Linked DNA regions of Homo sapiens: region 2 is linked to region 1. The links are contacts of gene promoters, found by promoter capture Hi-C in human tissues and cell types (Jung and others, 2019). All regions are on one chromosome and are shown on one strand. The core of a region is centred on a gene start or on the middle of the fragment in contact, and the rest is flanking DNA. Distances in the headings are between cores, read along the strand shown.

Evidence for each region. Contacts are between HindIII fragments. The study calls those that stand out against the background at their distance.
Region 2: a contact is called between a fragment that was not itself captured here and the fragment with the promoter of SP140 in region 1, in 1 of the 25 tissues and cell types used here (spleen).

What each region holds. Positions count from the first base shown.
Region 1 is chr2:230,223,750-230,227,737 of GRCh38, forward strand. It overlaps SP140 (SP140 nuclear body protein), which reads left to right and starts at 1,987. Exons shown (of 27, transcript NM_007237.5): 1 at 1,987-2,154. The coding sequence starts at 2,096. It also overlaps a transcript of SP110 not described here. RefSeq lists enhancers at 1,867-2,076, 2,307-2,356, 2,427-2,506, 2,527-2,576. The HindIII fragment of the contact is 8,977 bases long and covers 1-3,988 here.
Region 2 is chr2:231,042,422-231,046,409 of GRCh38, forward strand. The region is part of intron 2 of C2orf72 (chromosome 2 open reading frame 72); the gene reads left to right. Among named protein-coding and RNA genes, the nearest start is that of C2orf72, 6.9 kb to the left of the region's middle. The HindIII fragment of the contact is 5,949 bases long and covers 1-3,988 here.

The DNA of each region.
Region 1 (3,988 bases), core at 737-3,236:
GGATTGTGATCAAGACTCTATACAATTCATTTCCCCAATTCCAGGTGTCAGATTCTAGCATGCTTAGCAAAATGAAGAGAAATCTTCCAGGTAGAATGAAAGCATTGATTTACCTTTGGGGATTATGACCTACTTGGCCTAAATCTGGATGGGGGAACAGAGCCAGGAGGCAGGCCGGAGCCTTCTGACTCCACTGGTCACGTGGCAGTAAAGGAAGACATTGGGAACCAGAGATGGTCTGATGGTCCTACATATGCCTGGCCCAGGAATCCCTTACCCAGGAGAGGTTCTGTAGTGAGCATAGGGAAAAACAAGATAGTGGGAAATAGAACTGAAATTTCAGGCTATCCTTACCTGGGCTAATGCATGGTGTTGCAAAGTAGGGCTTTCTAGTAGTAGCAGCAGTACCCCTGAAGTACCAATCTTACCACCAGTCAGCTGAGGAACACCAATGGCCTTGTGCTTATAAGCAAAAGAAGCTGGCACATTTTCAAAAATGTCCAGTTCATTGGTGTCCTGGGTCTGCCTACTGCCTAAGGGCAGAGAGAAGAGAGAGAGGGGATGCTGGAGCAGGCGGTATAGTCTGTACCAGGCCTTGTTGGAGCCCCATGGAGACTGGGAGGAGAGGACAGCTGTGTCTAACAGAAGCCCAGCATACTTTTCCTTCTTGTTTTAAAGAGGGAGGGAGAGGGAGGGAGAGAGAGGGAGAGGGAGGGAGAGGGAGGGAGAGAGAGGGAGAGAGAGGGAGACAGAGGAGAGAGAGGACAGAGAGAGAGAGAGAGAGGAGAGAGAGAGAGATACTGGAAAAGGTGTCCTCATCAGTGTTCTAGAGTTTGTCTCAACCAGATTGGTGTTTGTTCCTTTGGTAGAAAGAAAGCAGAAGTGTGGAAGGGGTAGAAATTTCTTGCACTCTGTATTTTGCAAACTTATGTATGCAAATTTCCTTGCATATGTGTAATGAACCAGAAAAAGTAGGATTCAGGAGCACATGTTTTGGAAAAATACTGCTTTGCCTCTGGCTTTTCAATCCTCACTACTGTTCTGTCACTGGCCCTGGATTCTACCCATACCCTGGCTCTCATCAGCCCCCTGTCTTTGACCCATTTTTCTGCCTGGATTTCTAGTCCTGTGGTTATATTTTTTATATTTGCCCTTTGCTTCCATTTGTTTATCACTCGACTTTATGCTGATATAGTGTGTTTTTGTAAATTGTTTCAAATCCTTTACAGAATGAGGGCTGGGTATAAATGAAAAATTGTGTGCAAACATAAATGTAATACAGCTATCCTCCTGTATCATATTGTCCTTGAAGGTCTAGATAATCTCAGCTCCAAACCCTTTCCCCATCCAGTGAGAAGGCTGTCACTCTCCTCAAGATTTCAGTGAAATGGTTGAAGCTCATTTTTTTCCCAGTCACCCCTGGCTGCTGTTGTAAAGTGCCCACATATTTGAGAAAACTTAGAATTGCACCTCATTTCTCTGCCCAACCTCAGCACTTGCCTTTGGCTGGAGGAGTTGAGAGAGTTGTCTTTTACCTCTGTCTGCTTTCATGGAGTGCTAAGAGCATCTCCCCCACTTTCTAATGCATGCTATTTCAGTTCTCCCTGGCCCCATGTCCAAACACTGGGCCTAAGCCATCCAGCCCAGGCTCACTAAGGTGCATGGCCAGCCCTGGAGCCTGACTGAAGATTTGAAATGTCTGGTCTTCACTTGTCCTTCTCAGCCACCTCAGCAAGGGGTGGGGACAAATACAGAGTTTACTTCCTCCTCATGATGCCACCTTACCTCAAAACAACTTTGATCTGCTTGAGTTGAATGACTTTTCCACCCTCTTTCCTTGGCAGGAACAAGTGACCCTGTCTTCCGTGGCCTCGTGGGGCTGGCTCTGCTCCTCCTCCCTTGACTGAGAGACGTCATGGAGATTGGGTGGAGGGAGGACTGTAGAGTTGGTGCACCCACGTCAGCTAGTTAGGCAATTTCACTTTTCTTTTCCTCTTTGACTGAGCACCGAGGGGCAGTTGGCAGCTTCACCTCAGAGCTGCAGGAAGGAACGGGGCAGTGAAAATCGAATCGGGTGTGATCCTAGGCCAAGCTCATGGCCCAGCAGGGCCAGCAGGGGCAGATGGCAAGTGGAGACAGCAATCTCAACTTCAGGTGGGTCATCGTCTCCTTTCCCGTCTGTCCTTCATCTCTGGTAGGGTTCCCTTTCATACTTGTTATTTAATGTCTACCCAGCTTCACTCTACAGGTATACAATAGAATTCAGTTACAAATAAATAACGAGGCAATCAGATTTTTTAAATTGCAGGGATTGGCTGTTGGAGAAACTCAAGGATGCCGTGACTCACATCATCTTCCTATTCTCTTACATCTGCAAATGGCTGGACTGGAGCTGTTTGAACATCATGCCTGTTCTGAGGCTTTGTGTAGGATTGGATGATTCCCCGTGACCTCTGAACCCTCTCTTCTCCCCCAGGCCTCCTTTATCCCCACTCCAAAAGACAACTCTGTCTAAAAAGGATCTTTTTAGAAGAATTAAAATCCAAACGCCTGTCTGTTGTCACACTTTCCAGGCTGTGTAGTTGGGGACCGGTTCTGCTCTGAGCCCATCTATGTGGCTCTTAGCCCTAGAATCACTTCAGGATCTCTGAATACTTGGTAGGAGGAAGTGAAAGCAGATGAGACCCAACAAAAAAGGCAAGCAGGTAGAGAGTGAGTGCTGCTTCTGCTTTTTTTATTCTTCTGTTCTGGTATTTTTTACATATCTGGTCAGAGAAGCCTGGAAATCATCTTTAAAAAATGTAAGACAATGAGACCAGTCTGACCAACGTGGAGAAACCCTGTCTTTACTAAAAATACAAAATTAGCTGGGTGTCATGGTGTATGCCTGTAATTCCAGCTACTCAGGAGGCTGAGGCAGGATAATCGCTTGAACCAGGGAGGCAGAGGTTTTGGCGAGCCAAGATCACACCATTACACTTTAGCCTGGGCAACAAGAGTGAAATTCCATCTCAAAAAAAAAAAAAAAAAAAGACAAGTACATCAATACGGTCATTTCTTCTTATCTGTGGATTCTGTATCCATGGATCTAACCAACCATGAATGCAAAATATTTTCTAAAAATTAAAAACATAAATAACAACAATAAAAAGTAATATAAAAATTTAAAATACAGTATAACTATTTGTATAGCATTTACATTGTATTAGGTATTATAAGTCTAGAGATGATTTAAAATATACAGGAGGATGTGCATAGGTTATATGTAAATACTACACCTTTTATATCAGGGACTTGAGCATCCATGGATTTTGGTATCCATGGAGGGTCCTGGAACCAATTCCCCCTGGATACCAAGGGATGACTGTACATTCTTGATAAAAATGAAAATGTGTGGAATGTAAAAATGTATGGAAACTTGTCTAATTGGGACTCTGTGCTAAGGCTACTTCTGGCGCTGGTACAGCCCCAAGAAAGCAAAAGCTATTGCTATTATCAGCAGTAGTGGTGGCACCAGACTGGTTTTCAGTGCCCAGTGCCACCACTCCCAGACAGGCATCCCTGTCATCTCTCTTTCACTTGCTCTCTAGTGAAGGGAAGATGAGCCAGCGGAGCTCAAAGTCCAGCCAGCCCATGGTCACCAAGCAGGAAGAAGACGGCACTGAGAGGTGACAATGGGCTAATGCTAACCTCAAAGAATGAGTTAGGAAGTGTTGCCTCTGCTCTTATTTTTGGAGGAAATTGGGGAGGATGATGTCATTTCTTCCTTAAATATCTGGTAGGATTAGCTAGTGATACCATCTGGGCCTAGTACTTTCCTTTCTGGAGGGCTATTAATTATCGATTCAAATTTCTTTAATAGATGTAGGCCTATTCAGACAACCTATCTCTTGTGCAAGTTTTGGTTAGTTTGCCTCTTAAAGAATTTGTTCATTTCATCTGTGACCAAATTTGTAGGTGTAGAGTCCATAGTTTTCCTTTATTACCT
Region 2 (3,988 bases), core at 521-3,020, 820 kb after region 1:
ATATATAACAAAAGTTACAGGAATGAGGTATCTCTCTGAAAATATCTTATTGGACTGTACCGCAGGTAACTGAAACTGCGGATAGTGACGCCATGGATGGGGGTGGCTACAGTACTCGGAAGCATGGTGTAGCCTGCTGAATGCACACAGCCCATCCCAAAGTGCACTGAGAAGTATAGCTTTGTTACAGAAACAATGGATGGTGGTTCAAAATTAACTTTCATTGTGTCTCTCATTTAAGAAAGAAAACCATTAGTTGATGTGTCAGTCTTCATTGCTGCATAAGAAATGATCGCAAGTAGGTTGGGCATGGTGACTCATGCCTGTAATCCCAGCACTTTGGGAGGCCAAGGTGGGCAGATGACCTGAGGTCAGGAGTTCAAGCCCAGCCTGACCAACATGGTGAAACTCTATCTCTACTAAAAATACAAAATTAGCCGGGTGTGGTGGCACATGCCTGTAATCCCAGCTACTTGGGAGGCTGAGGCAGAAGAACTGCTTGGACCCCGGAGGTGGAGGTTGCAGTGAGCCAAGGTTGTGCCATTGCACTCCAGCCTAGGCAACAAGAGTGAAACTCCGTCTCAAAATAAATAAATAAATAAATAATCACAAGCTTAGCAGCTTCAAAGGCATTGATTAGGTGTCTGACTTCTTGCTGGCTGTCAGCTGGGGCTGCTCTCAGCTCCAAGAGGCCCCTGCCATTCCTTGCTCTCACAAGCCCTCTCACAAGAGATCCTCCTTCAATCAGCAGGAGAACCCCGCTCTCCAGTCTGCTAGGAGGGAGTCCACATAACCTAAGGAGTCAAGGTAGTCACTAGCCATTGCATTTGTCAGAGAGACAACCTACTCCCCAGAGTGACTAAGCTATCACATTCACAGAGCCCATCCAGACTCAAGGAAGGGCTTTATAAGGGGCCAGAATCTTGGGGGCTGTCTTAGAATTCTGCCTGTCATGTTTGAAAACTCAAAAAAAAGTACAAAAAAAAAAAAGAAAGAAAACAAATGTGAAACATCATTCACTTAATTCCATCATTCAGAGATAACTACAATTATATTTTGGGGTACGCCATTCTATTTACCTATCTCTCCTTGTGCTCTTTAAAATTTAATAAACTCACTTCTATATCATCTTCAAAATGCAGTAGATATTTAAAATGTTTAATTGCAAAAATGCTAACTTCAACCTCTCCACCATCATTTTGGATATACTTGGAAACTAAAGGAGAAAAGATGAAGCAACAGAATCATTAACCATTTTACATAAATCTTGGATAATTTCTCTCTCTGTGGTATGTACAAATCTCATATAGAAGTGAATGTATTAAAATGCAAATGGCATTTATGGACTATGTACACACATTGATAGCATATGATAAATATAGGATATCATAATTACATGCATTTATACAATCATGAGTTGCTTAATGACAGGGATATACATTCTGAAAAATACATCTTTAGGGGATTTTTGTTGTGTGAACACGATAGAGTGTACTTAGAAACCTGGATGGTATAACCTACTACATGCCTATGCTATGCGGCATAGCCTATCGTTCCTAGGCTACAAACCTGTACAGCAGGTTACTGTCCTGAATATTGTGGGCAACTGTAACACAATGGTAAGTAGCTGTGTGTCTCAACATACCTAAACATAGTAAAGGTGCAGTAAAAATATGCTATAAAAGATCAAAAAATGGTACATCTGCATAGGACACTTACCATGAATGAAGTTTTCAAGGCTGGAAGTTGCTCTGGGTGAGTCAGCGAGTGAGTGGTGAGTGAATGGGAAGACCTAGGACATTGCTGTGCACTACTGTCGACTATATAAACGCAGTACACTTAGGCTACACTACATTTATTTTAAAATATTTCTTTCTTCAATAATAAATTAACCTTAGCTTACTGTAACTTTTTTACTTTATAAGCTTTTTGATTTTTTGGCCAGGCATGATGGCGCGTGCCTGTAGACCCTGCTACTCCAGAGGCTGAGGCAGGAGGATGGCTCGGGCCCAAGAGTTCGAGGCTACAGTGATCCGTACTCCTGCCATTGCACTGCAGCCTGCACACCATAGTGAGACTGTCTCAAAACAAACAAACAGACAAACAAAAACCACCTTTTTAAATTATTAAAAGCTTTTTCACTCTTTTGTAGTAATACTTGGCTTAAAACACAAAATATTGTAGAAATGTACAAAAATATTTTCTTTCTTTATATCCTTATTTAGTAGGCTTTTTCCTATTTTAATTTTTTTTTTTTTTTTTTTTTTGCTAAAAACTAAGACACAAACATGCGCCTTAGCCTACACCTACACACAAGGTCAGGATCATCAGTATCACTGTCTTCTGCTTCCACATCTTGTCCCACTGGAAGGTCTTCAGGGACAATAACACACATGGAGCTGTCACCTCCTATGATAAACAATGCCTTCTTCTGGATACCTCTTGAAGGGCTTGCCTGAGGCAGTTTTACAATTAACTATATATATATATAAACTTTATATACGTGTGTGTGTATATATATCTTTATATATATATATATATACACACACACACACATATAAGTAGAGGGAGTACACTCTAAAATAATGTTAAAACATATAGTAGGCCGAGGCTGGCGGATCACCTGAAGTCAGGAGTTCCAGACCAGCCTGGCCCACATGGTGAAACCCCATCTCTACTAAAAATACAAAAATTAGCCAGGGCGTGGTGGCACACGCCTGTAATCTCAGCTACTCGGGAGGCTGAGGCAGGAGAACTGCTTGAACCTGGGAGGCGGAGGTTGCAGTGGGCAGAGATTTCGCCAGTGCACTCCAGCCTGGGCAACAGAGCAAGACTCCATCTCAAAAAATAATAATAATTTTATATATATAGAGAGAGAGAGAGACAGTACAGTAACATAGTCATTTCTTATTATTATCAAGTATTGTCTACTGTATATAATTGTATGTACTAGACTTTTACATGACTGGCAGCGAGTTAGGTTGTTTCCACCAGCATTGCCACAAACATGTGAGTAATGCATTGCACTGCAACATCAGGACAACTACAAGGTTACTAGGTGACAGGAATTTTTTAGCTGTGTTTCAATCTTTTTTTTTTTTTTTTTTTTTTTTTGAGACAGAGTCTAGCTCTGTCACCCAGGCTGCACTGTGCAGTGGCACGTCTTGGCTCACTGCAAGCCCCGCCTCCCAGGTTCACGCCATTCTCCTGCCTCAGCCTCCCAGGTAGCTGGGACTACAGGCTCCCGCCACCACGCCCAGCTAATTTTTTGTATTTTTAGTAGAGACGGGGTTTCACCATGTTAGACAGGATGGTCTCGATCTCCTGACCTCGTGATCTGTCCGCCTTGACCTCCCAAAGTGCTGGGATTACAGGCGTGAGCCACGGCGCCCGGCCAGCTGTGTTTCAGTCTTATGGGACCACTCTCTTATTAAGGTTCGTAATTGACCAAAATGTCATTATGTTGCACGTGACTGTACTTACTGTTTTGGAATCTGCTTTCTTCATCAATAACATACTATAACTGCCTTCCACAGCAATAATTATATGTCAACAACATATTTTCTTTTTTGAGGTAATTCTAAATTAACATGCAGTGGCAAGAAATCATACAGAAATCCCAGCACTTTGCGAGGCCGAGGCAGGGGGATAGCTTGAGCTCAGGAGTTCAAGACCAGCATGAGTGACATAGTGAGACCCTGTCTCAAAAAACAAAAAGGGAGATCACCCAGAGAGATCCTGTGTATACTTTGCCCAGTTTCCCCCAATGGTAACATTTTGCAAAACTATAGTGCAATAGCACAAACGGGATATTGACACTGACGTAATCCACAGATCTTATTCGGATTTCCCCAATTTTACTTCTATGCAGTGTGTGTGTGTGTGTGTGTGTGTGTGTGTGTGTGTGTGTGTGTGTGTTTAGGTCTGTGGAATTTTATATATTGTCTTTAATACCTGAATCCCATTATATGTGTGAGCCATAGTTCAC